Regions from separate parts of the Homo sapiens genome. Here all the other regions are linked to region 2. Evidence: promoter capture Hi-C in 16 types of primary human blood cells and fetal thymus (Javierre and others, 2016). All regions are on one chromosome and are shown on one strand. The core of a region is centred on a gene start or on the middle of the fragment in contact, and the rest is flanking DNA. Distances in the headings are between cores, read along the strand shown.

Region 1 (2,711 bases), core at 108-2,607, 400 kb before region 2:
ATGTCACCTCCTCCAAGAAGCCCTTTCTAATTGTCCTTCCTGGAGTCACATCTCTACCAGACACCTTTCATCCCATCACCCTGGTTTTTTTTTTTTTTTTTTTTTGAGATGGAGTCTCACTCTGTCACCCAGGCTGGAGCGCAATGGTGCGATCTCGGCTCACTGTAACCTCCACCTCCTGGGTTCAAGTGATTCTCCTGCCTTAGCCTCCCAAGTAGCTGGGATTACAGGCGCGTGTTACCACAGCTGGCTATTTTTTTTTTTTTTGTATTTTTAGTAGAGATGGGGTTTCACCATGTTGGCCAGGCTAGTTTCGAACTCCTGACCTCAGGTGACCTGCCTGTCTTGGCATCCCAAAGTGCTGGGATTACAGGCATGAGCCATGGCGCCCGGCCTCATCACCCTGTTTTGTTTTCTTCATAACACTAATCACTGTCTGAATCTCTCAGATAGATTATTGGTTCATGGGTTTATCATCTGTTCCCATGTGAGCTAGGAAGGGTGGAGATTTTCTTGGCCACCCCCATGAATGTGTCCCCAGGCCCTGGAACAGTCTCTGACACTGTAGGTATCTGGCAAGCATTTATCAAATGCATGAATGGATGGGCGAATGAATGAGCTTATTCTGTGTTGTCAGTTCCTGAGGTGCACACATGTTTTGGTTTGTTATTGTCCATTATTGCTCGCTTAGCAGAGTGTCTCAGCATGTCCCAAGGTGGACGTGTGGGACCAGATGTCCTGAGCATCATAGGATGCGAGGAGCATCCCTGGCCTCTTCCCACTGGAGCTGCCGGTAATACCACTCCCCACACGCACTAAGAACAACCAAAACTGTCTCCAAACACTGCCAAATGTCAGGTGGGGGAGAGAATCGCCCCAGCTGAGAACTCTGGCCCTGCAGTATTTAATCCAGCACTTGGGCGCTAGGAGGGCTGAAAACGTGTCTCTTGACGAATTTGGGGATCAAATCCTGCCTCTGGAGCAGTTCCACAATACGACCAGCAGGTGGAAGCAGAGACCGCCCTTTCGGTAGCATGGTTGCCCTCACTTTGCAAAAACTTTGTTTTCCCCAGCATTGTAACTGATTTTCCAACAGCGCTCATTTAGCCCCATGTGGCCATGTGAGTAACCCACTCCTTTTGCGCCTTTCCGGATTAGACAGGGACGTCGCAGCAACGTCCTGAAAGGAGCAGACAGCCAGTAAAGAAGTGCAGGCGTTGGTGGAAGTAGGGGGAGGACCATCTTGGGATCAGGCAGTTCTGAAGTTTACTCCCAGTTGCGTCCCTTTCTCTCCTTATGCCCTTAGTCCAGTTATGTTAACCTGCCAGTGCCTCAGTTTCCTCATCTGTACCCTGCTTTGCTTATCTCCTAGTCCTCACCACGGGCTACGTATTTCATATGCCTCTCTCTCCTCAATCATGTGGCACCCCAGAGAGCAAGGTCTGGGTCTGGAGGAGTCATTGCCCCCCCAGTTGCTGGTGTGTACTGGCCTTCCTTTGAGTGTTTGTTGAATGACTGACTGACCGACTGGCGTGGAGAATAGCACAGGTGCATAGATGTGGATGTCAGCTATAATGATGACAATGCTGATGTCATGGTGGTGTCATGTCGTTGTGGTGGTGATGTCATGGCATGGTGGTGATGATGTCATGATGTTTGTTGAATGACTGACTGACCGACTGGCATGGAGAATAGCACAGGTGCATAGAAAGTACTCAGTGGGTGTCAGCTATGATGATGACAGTGTTGACGTCATGGTGATGATGATGTCATGATGAAGACGATGATGCCATATTGTTGATAATCGTGTTGTCATCTTTTAATCCACACCAGTATTCCCCAAACCATCAGCACCTCCCAGAGTTTCCTAAGCCAAAGGCTCCTCGGGCCCTCCCCTACATCTCATGACTTGGAATCTTGCAGGAACAGAATCTCAGCCATGGTTTTGGGTTAGAATAGGCTGGAGAGCTCTTAAAAAACACTGATGCCTGGACACCAGCCCTAGAGAATATCAGATCAAGGATGTAGACAGCAGCAGGATTTTTGGAAGATACCCAGGTGATTCTAAGAGCAGCAAGATGACAACCCTTCTCTGTCACTTAATAAACGCCCCACCTCGGCATTTATGCAAACAGTGGCTCTGGGCCAGAAGCCTCGGCATCGCCTGGAAGCCACTTAGAAATGTGAGTTTTTGGGCTTCACCCAGGCCTCCTGGCTCAGACACCCTGGGGGTGGCATCAGCCCGAGAGTATCAACAAGCCCATAGAGTCTGGGGCGCGCTAAATGTGAACAGCACTGCCCCAGGGGACCCGGATGGGGAGCCCATTCCCAGGGGCAGAACACCAGGATGAAAGGAGGGATGGATTTTTCTGGGGGAGGACGGAAAAGGTATGATTAGTCTTGAAGAGTGCTCTATCAATTGGCCAACCCCTTGGGAGTCTCGCAGCTTCATATTGTAGACCTAACCTGACCCCGTAGAAAGCCCATGTCATGCCAGAGTTATTTTAGAGCAAAAGGAACTCCAGGCCAGAGCTCCCCAGAGAGAGCTGAACGCATTACAGGGCCCAGGAGGTAGGGCACCCTCTCCCTTTCCCAGACCCACCAAGGAGCTGATCCAAGGGACATGGGTGAGGAGGAAATGAAGTCGGAGGGGGCGTGAGGACTTTGCAATCTGTAAAGCTCTGTGTGTGATTAAAGGATCGTTTTTATTT
Region 2 (2,700 bases), core at 183-2,682:
ACCTTTCGAGTCAGGTTTGATTCTGATGCAGGCAGCCATGTGCGGCAGGGCTTTCGCACGGTTGCAAGCGCACACCTGGCCGGATGCTGGCTGCACCACACACTGCCAAGTACAAACTCCCCGAAAAACAGGTGGATTCGGAAACCAACAGCGCCCGGGTCAGAACTCTGGGCCAGTCCAAAACCTGACAACATCTGCGTTCCTTGCAGGTATTTTCGAACGTAAGCCCGACGCTAGGCAGTGCTGTTAGAAAGTGATTTGGAAGAGCGCTTCCGAGCCACGGCGCGCCCTCCGGGGGAGCGCACCGGAGCAGGTGCGGGCGAGCCCCGCGCCCGGGGAGGTCAGGAATTCCCCAGCCACACCAGATCCAACCGGACGCCCCAGAACGGGGACGGTCCCCGGAGTCCGCCTCCCAACCTGGGTGAGAAAACACCTCCGTCCCTCCGCTGCCTGAGCGCTCGAATTTACAACTCAGGGCGCTTTGTGCCGCGGAGGCCCGGCGGACGCGAGGTCGGGACAATGCACGGGGCCGGGGTCCCGGCGGCCGCCCCTCGCCCGCGGACCCGGCATGACTTTGCAGCCTCGCAGGCCGGGGCCGGGAGGCCAGGCCGAGGCCCGGCGGCCGCCCGGGGCCTGGTTAAAGATGGCGAGCCCCTCGCGTGGCTCCCGCGGCTCCCCCGGCCACAATGAAAGGCGCCCCCCGGCCCCGCCGCGGCCGGCCCTCGGGCCTCACCTTCCATCTCCATGTCCTCGGGCTCGCTCAACTGCTGCTCGCCCGCTTTCTGCTGCTGCTGCTGCTGCTGGTGGTTCATGTCGGCCGCGGCCTGGGCCTCGCCTGCGGCCGGGGGCCGGGGCTGCGAGCCCGGCGGGCGGGCGGCGGCGAGCCGGGGCGGCGGCGGCGGCGGCGGCGGCGGGGCGGCCTCCTCCTCCTCCTCCCGCGCGTCGTCGGCGACGGCGGCCCCGGGGCGGCCCGCGGCGGGCGGCGGCGGCGGCAGGGAGACGCGCACGTACTTGCTCGCGATTCGCCCAATCTCGGCGCCGAGGCGGGCGGGCGGCCGGCGGGCCGGGCCGGGCGGCCTCGTCGCTCGCTGCGGCCGCCGCCGCCGCCGCCGCGGGGCCCGCCTCCCGCCGCCGGGGCCGGGGCCGGGGCTGCGGGGCCGCGGGCCGGCCGGGGGCGGAGGGCGGCCGGTCGGGGGCCGCGGAGTCAGCCCCGCCTCGGGCCGGGCGCGGCGGACGGGAGGCCTGGCCGGCCGCGGCGGGCCTGCGGGCCCTGGGGCCGGCGGGAGCGGCGGAGCGGGCGGGCGACGGGCCGGCCGCGTTCCGAGAGCCGCGGCCTCCGCCTCCTCGGCGTCGTCGTCGGGGCTCCGGCAGCGGACGCGGCGCCCGGCAGCTCGGCTCGGCTCGCTCTCAAAATGGCGGCGGCGTGAAATGTCACATCCGCATGGGGGGCCGCGGAGCGAGCGAGCGAGCGAGGAGAGCAAGCGGGCGGGCGCCGAGCCGGAGGGCGGAGCGGGAGCGCAGGGCGGAGCACGGGAGGCGGAGCAGGGAGCGACCCGCCTGCCGCCGCCGCCGAGGCCCGCCTGCCCCGCAGCGCCGCGCCCCGGCACCGCCTGCGCCGCAGCCCCGCGGCGGACCCTCGGCGCTCCCTGCCCCCGGGCCCTGGGGGCCGAGGCGGGCCGCCCGGTGACTTAGCCCTGCGGAGGTGAACCGGAATCCTTCCCATCCTGGGGAGCCGGACACCCCGAAAGACCCAGGAGCGGCAATGAGGAGGGGCCCAGAAGCCACCCGGCAGCCGGGGTTCAGGTCCCAGCCTAGCGCGCCGGGGCGAGCGCTGGAGGTTGCCCGGGGACTGCTCGGGATAGGGCCCGGAAGGGAGCTTGGGGTCAGCGCCTAGAAGTTCCTGTTATTGTCGTTACTTACCCTTGCCCGCTGACGTGCACTTTTTCACCCAGTATCTACCGTGGAAGAATTTATTTTCTCACTGTCAGCCTAATCTGGCAAAGTTTGGCTCCTCAAGAGCAACCCCAGGCGGGGCGCAGCTGCTCACACCTGTGATCCCAGCACTTTGGGAGGCCGAGGTGGGAGAATCACTTGAGGCCAAGAGTAAGAGACCACCCTCTCTACAAAGGTTTTGGGTTTTGTTTTTATATTTTTGAAATGTATTTTTAATTAGCCGGGTGTTGTGCCTCCTGCCTGTAGTGACAGCTACTTGGGAGGCTGAGGCTGGAGGTTCGCTTGGGAGGTTGACTGAGGCTGCAGTGATCAAAGATGGCGCCACTGCACTCCAGCCTGGGCAACAGAATGAGACCCTGTCTCAACTAATAGTGATAATAAAATAATAATATAAAAATAAAACAAGCCCACTACCCTTCACATTTGGTATTAATTTACTTCCTTCCTATCAACCCAGTCTGGGATCATTCACCCGGGGCCTCCCTATTCCAGGAGACATTTGGTGAATATATCTCCTGTCCTGTCTCATTCAGTCATTGACAGACTGATGATTAGGGTCTCAACTTTTCCAGTTAATCAAGGCAGTGTGGGTCAATAAAAATGGAGCAAACCGATATACATTTCTACACATCTCAGGGGAGAATAGAATTTCACCCTAACAAGGCCAGAAGATTGTGGTACCTGTCTTCTCTCCATCTCCCTATACCCGCTTTCCCTGCATTTTTCTCCCATTTATGTACTGTTCAT
Region 3 (2,700 bases), core at 159-2,658, 310 kb before region 2:
TCAGGCCCTGGATGTGGCCTGATGCTGCAGTTTAACAAGCTCCCGGGTGATGCTGATGATGCTCGTCTGTGGGCCACACTGTGAGGAGTGAAGTTGCAACATGTCATCCCTGGTTAAGAGCACAAACTCTGGGTTGGATGTGGTGGCTCATACCTGTGATCCCAGCACTTTGGGAGGCAAAGGCAGGAGGATTACTTGAGGACAGGAGTTTGAGATCAGCCTGGGCAACATACAGAGACCCTATCTCTAAAAAACTTTTTTTTAATTAGCCAGGTGTGTCATGCACCTGTACTCCCAGCTACTCAGGAGGCTGGGTCGGGAGCATCGCCTAAGCGAAGGAATTCTAGGCTGCAGTGAACTGTGATTGTGCCACTGCACTACACCCTCACAGCCTTACAGACAGAGACGCTATTTCTAAAGAAAAAAAAACCCACCAACTCCGGAGTTGAGCAAGCCAGGGTTTAAATCCTGCCTCTGCTGTGTAACAGCAATGACCTTGGACAAATGACCTAGCCTCTCTGAACCTGAGTTTCCTCACCTGTAAAATAGTAAAACTTCTTGATAGGTTGGTGAATGGGTACAAACTTAGGGAAGAAATACCTTCTAATGTTTGGTAGCAGACTAGGGTGGCTACAGTTAGCAACAATATATTGTGTATTTCAAAGTTGCTAGAAGAGAGAACTTGAAATGTTCCCAACACATAAAATTATAAATTCTCAAGGTGGTGAATACCTCAAATACCCTGGCTTGATAATTACACATTCTGTGTATATAAAACACATTCATATGCACCCCATAATATGCAAAATTTCATTTATCAATAAATGAAAAAAAGCCAGATGTGGCTCATGCGTGTAATCCCGGCACTTTGGGAGGCCAAGGCAAATGGATCACCTGAGGTCAGGAGTTCAAGACCAGTCTGGCCAACATGACAAAACCCCGTATCTACTAAAAATACAAAAAAATAGCTGGGCATGGTGGCGTGCCTGTAATTCCAGCTACTCTGGAGGCTGAGGCAGGAGAATTGGAACCTGAGAGGTGGAGTTTGCAGTGAGCTAAGATTGCACCATTGCACTCCAGCCTGGGTGACAGAGCGAGACTCCGTCTCAAAAAATAATATAAATAAATAAATGGGAAAAAAAGAGGGTAAGAATTCTTTCTTCACAGAATTATTGTAAAGATCATACTAAATGGGCCAGGCGCAGTGGCTCATACCTGTAATCCCAGCACTTTGGGAGGCCGAGGTGGGCAGATCATGAGGTCAGGAAATCAAGACCATCCTGGCTAACATGGTGAAACCCCGTCTCTACTAAAAATACAAAAAATTAGCCAGGCGTGGTGGCGGGCACCTGTAGTCCCAGCTATTCGGGAGGCTAAGGCAGTAGAATGGCGTGAACCCGGGAGGCGGAGCTTGCAGTGAGCTGAGATCGAGCCACTGCACTCCAGCCTGGGCAACAGAGCAAGACTCTGTCTCAAAAAAAAAAAAAAAAACATACTAAATGATCCATGAAAGATGCCTAGAGTCATACTTGGCCCTGGTGAAGTTTTCATTAAATTGCAGACTTAGTCCTAAGGTAGAGTTTTTGGCTTGGCGGAATTTTCAACTTGCACCTTGCAGCCTGTGTGATTTGTAAGGTTGGATTGTCTCACATCATCACCTGCTAGAGACATCACTGGGAGCAATCTCTCCCTCTCTCTATAAATAAAAGGGATCCTGTTTGCCACCCTATCCTGAAGCAATAGCTGGACAAAAAGCAAATCTGAAAAGTCAAATGGAAAAAGCCTGACTTCAATTTCAGGTTCCGTGTTGTACACGAGCATGATTTTGGAGGACCTGGGCAACCCTCAGAGAGAGAGAAAAGTCATGCTTTTGTTCTTACTCATAAGTGGGAGTTGAACAATGAGAACACAAGGACATAGGGAGGAGAACATCACACACCGGGGCCTTTTGGGGGATGGGGGACGAGGAGGGAGAGCGTTAGGACAAATACCTAATGCATGCAGGGCTTAAAACCTAGATGACGGGTTGATAGGTGCAGCAAACCACCATGGCACACATATACCTATGTAACAAACCTGCACATTCTGCACATGTATCCCAGAACTTAAAATAAAACAAGCAAAAAAGAAAAGTCATGCTTTATCCTGCTGATCCCAGCTCCACTCCACTTCCACGGGCTGCCAGTTGGGGGAGAAATGCTGCCAGGGACACAGCCTCAGAGTTCATGCTCTTCAGTATAGAGTCCAGATAAAAGTGAGATGTAGGCCGGGCGCGGTGGCTCAAGCCTGTTATCCCAGCACTTTGGGAGGCCAATGTGGGAGGATCATTTGCGGTCAGGAGTTCAAGACCAGCCTGGCCAACATGGTGAAACCCCATCTCTACCAAAAATACAAAAATTAGCCGGGCGTGGTGGTGCACAGCTGTAATCCCAGCTACTCAGGAGGCTGAGGCACAAGAATCGCTTAAACCGAGCAGGTCGAGGTTGCAATGAGCCGAGATCATGCCGCTGCACTCCAGCCTGGGCAACAGAGGGAGACTCCGTCTCAAAAAAAAAAAAAAAAAAAAAAAAAAGTGAGATGTAGTGTGTGCCCTTGCCCTTGCTTGCTGTGAAACCCTCATGTGTGGCCAGGTGCAGTGGCTCACACCTGTAATCCCAGCACTTTGGGAGGCCGAGGTAGGAGGATCACTTGAGCCAGGAG
Region 4 (2,700 bases), core at 91-2,590, 270 kb before region 2:
ATCTGTACTAAAAATACACAAAAAAATTAGCCGGGCGTGGTGGCAGGTGCCTTTAGTCCCAGCTACTTGGGAGGCTGAGGCAGGAGAATCACTTGAACCCAGAAGGCAGAGGTTGCAGTGAGCCGAGATTGCACCACTGCACTCCAGCCTGGGTGATAGAGTGAGACCCTGTCTCAAAAAAAAAAAAAAAAAAGTTCAACGTCATTTGTGTTGTTTCTTCTATTATCTTCTGGAAGCTTTCATGTTTTGCCTTTCATATTTATCTCCAGCATCCACCTAGGGTTGATTTTTATGTATTGTATTAGGTAGAATCATGATTAATTTTTTCCTACATAGATAGTTCATTTGGCCCAGTATCACTGCCTCCATTGTCAAAAATCAAGTGTCCATATATGCATGTATGTGTTTCTATTCTCTGTTCGGTTCTATTAATCCGTGTGTTTAATCTTTGCCCCCATACCACATCTTGACTGCTGTAGCCTTAGAATATGATAGGCATTGCCTCGTTGCCCTCTAAAGAGACTGCACCAATCAAGACTTACTAACAATTTGACAAAAATGTATTGGGCTTCCAGTACAGTGCCAGATGGTATCATGATGGGAATTCAAGTCTAATCATATGCACAACTTCTACCTTAAAGTGTATAGTCTTATAAGTGACAAGACATGAACCAAATAATTCCACAAATAGAGGTAACATATGAATGTGATGGGGCCACAAAGGGGAGCTGTGTAGGATTCTGTGCTAAAAGGAAGATTTGATCTGGTGGGAGAGGTTCAGGGAAGTCTTCTCTGAGAAAGTGAGTCATGAACTGATATCAGAAGTGTGAGTAGAAATGAAGGAATCAGAAGCAAGGGAAAAGCATTTTGGGTGGTGGGAACAGCATCTGCAAAGACTGAGTAGAAGCCTTCCCAGGACAAACAGTAGATCCTCGTGGCCAAACCCAGAGTCAGGAAGGTGCTATGCACAGAAATTGGAATGGTGATAGGGACCAGACCTCAAGGCCTTTAAACTACATTCAACAGCTGGTTTTTATACCTAGAACAACTATCCTAAGAACAATAACAAGAGTCACCTTGAATATTCCAGATTTAGGGTAGTTCCAAGAGCCTTTTCAGCACAACTAGGGTTGCTTCTTGGCAGGAGAAGAATGTGTATGGCAACCCCTGGAGTGACACATCAGTTTTATTAAGCTTCATCTCCCAGCTCCTGGCACTGAACATTTCATTTTTGCTAGCAGTGGAAGCAACAGTTTTACTGTGCAGTCAGCCCAGGTTCTGGCAGCAGCAGCATCTGCCTGGCACCATCTCAGGTCTGGAACTCTTTTCTCCCCAGCCTGGCGAGTGTCTTGCTTGCTGGAGTGTCCCTTAAGGTGGACCTGGTGCCAGCCGCAGTGCTGTGAACTTGAACTGTTTCTCCTCATTCACCATCATCTCTACTCCTCACCCGTGGAGGCATGATTCCTACTCTATGGATAAGAACACAGAAGCTTAGAGAGCTTAAGTCACTTGCCTAAGACCACACACCTTCCAAAGGGCAAATATAAAAGTCTCCAACAATATATTTTTCTACATTTTTTGTGGTACTTTTTTCCTTTTCAAAATATAGAGTGAGTCATACTCATCAGGAATTTTACGTACAGAATGACAACATTTCTGGGGAGTAGGACAGGATTCTGAGATGTTTCCAATCTGTGCCTTGAGCGGATCCGATGATTTATCCAGATCTAAGACCCTCATCTCATTCTCGGCAGTGCCTTTTAAATTTGGCAGCCAACATGGGGTTTTGGTTCTTTCTGCACCAAGTGGAGTAATTAAGAAGGTTTTCATCAAGGTAAATATCTGCTGGGTTTCTATAGAATTGTGGGGAGGAAGTTGAATATACACCAGCACCCAAAATCTCATTAAATGGGTCTGCCCCTTGTTCCAGGACAGGAGAGCCAAACATAGCGGACAGGATTGATGTTGTTTTCATGAATGTAGGTGGCCGCTGTGTTCTTTGTGGGTTTTCAAGGTGGGAATTTGTTTGCAAATGAATGTATGAAGAAGCCAGGAGTTAACACTGCTTCAGGGAGGTTTTAGAGCCTGGGGGAAATAATGTTGTTTTAGAATTTTTAGAATAAGTATTGGCAGTGTGTTGGGGGAAAAAAAAAAACCCTGAAAAATAGAATACAGATTTCAGTTAAGCTCTCCCTTCGTCAAACCACACTTGCCCATATTGGCACATAGCTTGATGCTACAGCCACACCTCCTCTGTTTATTATCTACTTAGTGCTTGGTAATATACTGTGTACTATGAGTACCCTCTCTGGGAACCCCACAATAACCCTTTGATGTGGTTTCAAACCCATTTTACAGATGAGGGGCTATTACAGAACTTGCACCAGGTCCTCAGAAACCAAGTGAGGGAGTTGGGATTTGAACCCCTTCACCTGAACACTTGCACCTGCCTGCAGTTAATACATCACATTGGAGCAGATAACCTGCCACATTTCCTGGAGAGCAGGGTTCTCTGCTGCAACTGTGCTCCCCAGGGAACTTTTTTTTTTTTCCAAGACAGACTCTCACTCTGTTGCCTAGGTTGGAGTGCAGTGGCACAATTTTGGCTCAATGCAATCTCTGCCTCCTGGGTTCAAGCAATTCTCCTGCCTCAGCTTCCTGAGTAGCTGGAATTACAGTCGTGCACCACCACACTCGGCA

The links. The method cuts DNA at HindIII sites, captures the fragments that hold promoters and counts their contacts. A CHiCAGO score of 5 or more calls a contact.
Region 1: a fragment that was not itself captured here is called in contact with the fragment with the promoter of USP7 in region 2 in 9 of 17 cell types (total CD4 T cells, neutrophils, non-activated CD4 T cells and 6 more); the score reaches 12.8 in total CD4 T cells.
Region 3: a contact is called between a fragment that was not itself captured here and the fragment with the promoter of USP7 in region 2, in 3 of 17 cell types (neutrophils, non-activated CD4 T cells and monocytes). The highest score is 8.7, in neutrophils.
Region 4: a fragment that was not itself captured here is called in contact with the fragment with the promoter of USP7 in region 2 in 1 of 17 cell types (non-activated CD4 T cells); the score reaches 5.3 in non-activated CD4 T cells.

The regions. Positions count from the first base shown.
Region 1 is chr16:8,566,814-8,569,524 of GRCh38, forward strand. It overlaps TMEM114 (transmembrane protein 114), which reads right to left. Exons shown (of 4, transcript NM_001146336.2): 4 at 2,687-2,711. Among named protein-coding and RNA genes, the nearest start is that of TMEM114, 22 kb to the right of the region's middle. The HindIII fragment of the contact is 2,900 bases long and covers 1-2,711 here.
Region 2 is chr16:8,962,474-8,965,173 of GRCh38, forward strand. USP7 (ubiquitin specific peptidase 7) reads right to left here and starts at 1,433. Exons shown (of 31, transcript NM_003470.3): 1 at 734-1,433. The coding sequence starts at 812. It overlaps USP7-AS1 (USP7 antisense RNA 1), which reads left to right and starts at 240. Exons shown (of 2, transcript NR_184341.1): 1 at 240-421. RefSeq lists an enhancer at 1-340 and a silencer at 1,536-1,895. The HindIII fragment of the contact is 5,189 bases long and covers 1-2,700 here.
Region 3 is chr16:8,649,913-8,652,612 of GRCh38, forward strand. It overlaps a transcript of METTL22 not described here. Among named protein-coding and RNA genes, the nearest start is that of ABAT, 23 kb to the right of the region's middle. The HindIII fragment of the contact is 2,939 bases long and covers 1-2,700 here.
Region 4 is chr16:8,688,905-8,691,604 of GRCh38, forward strand. All of the region lies in intron 1 of ABAT (4-aminobutyrate aminotransferase), which reads left to right. Among named protein-coding and RNA genes, the nearest start is that of ABAT, 16 kb to the left of the region's middle. The HindIII fragment of the contact is 296 bases long and covers 1,193-1,488 here.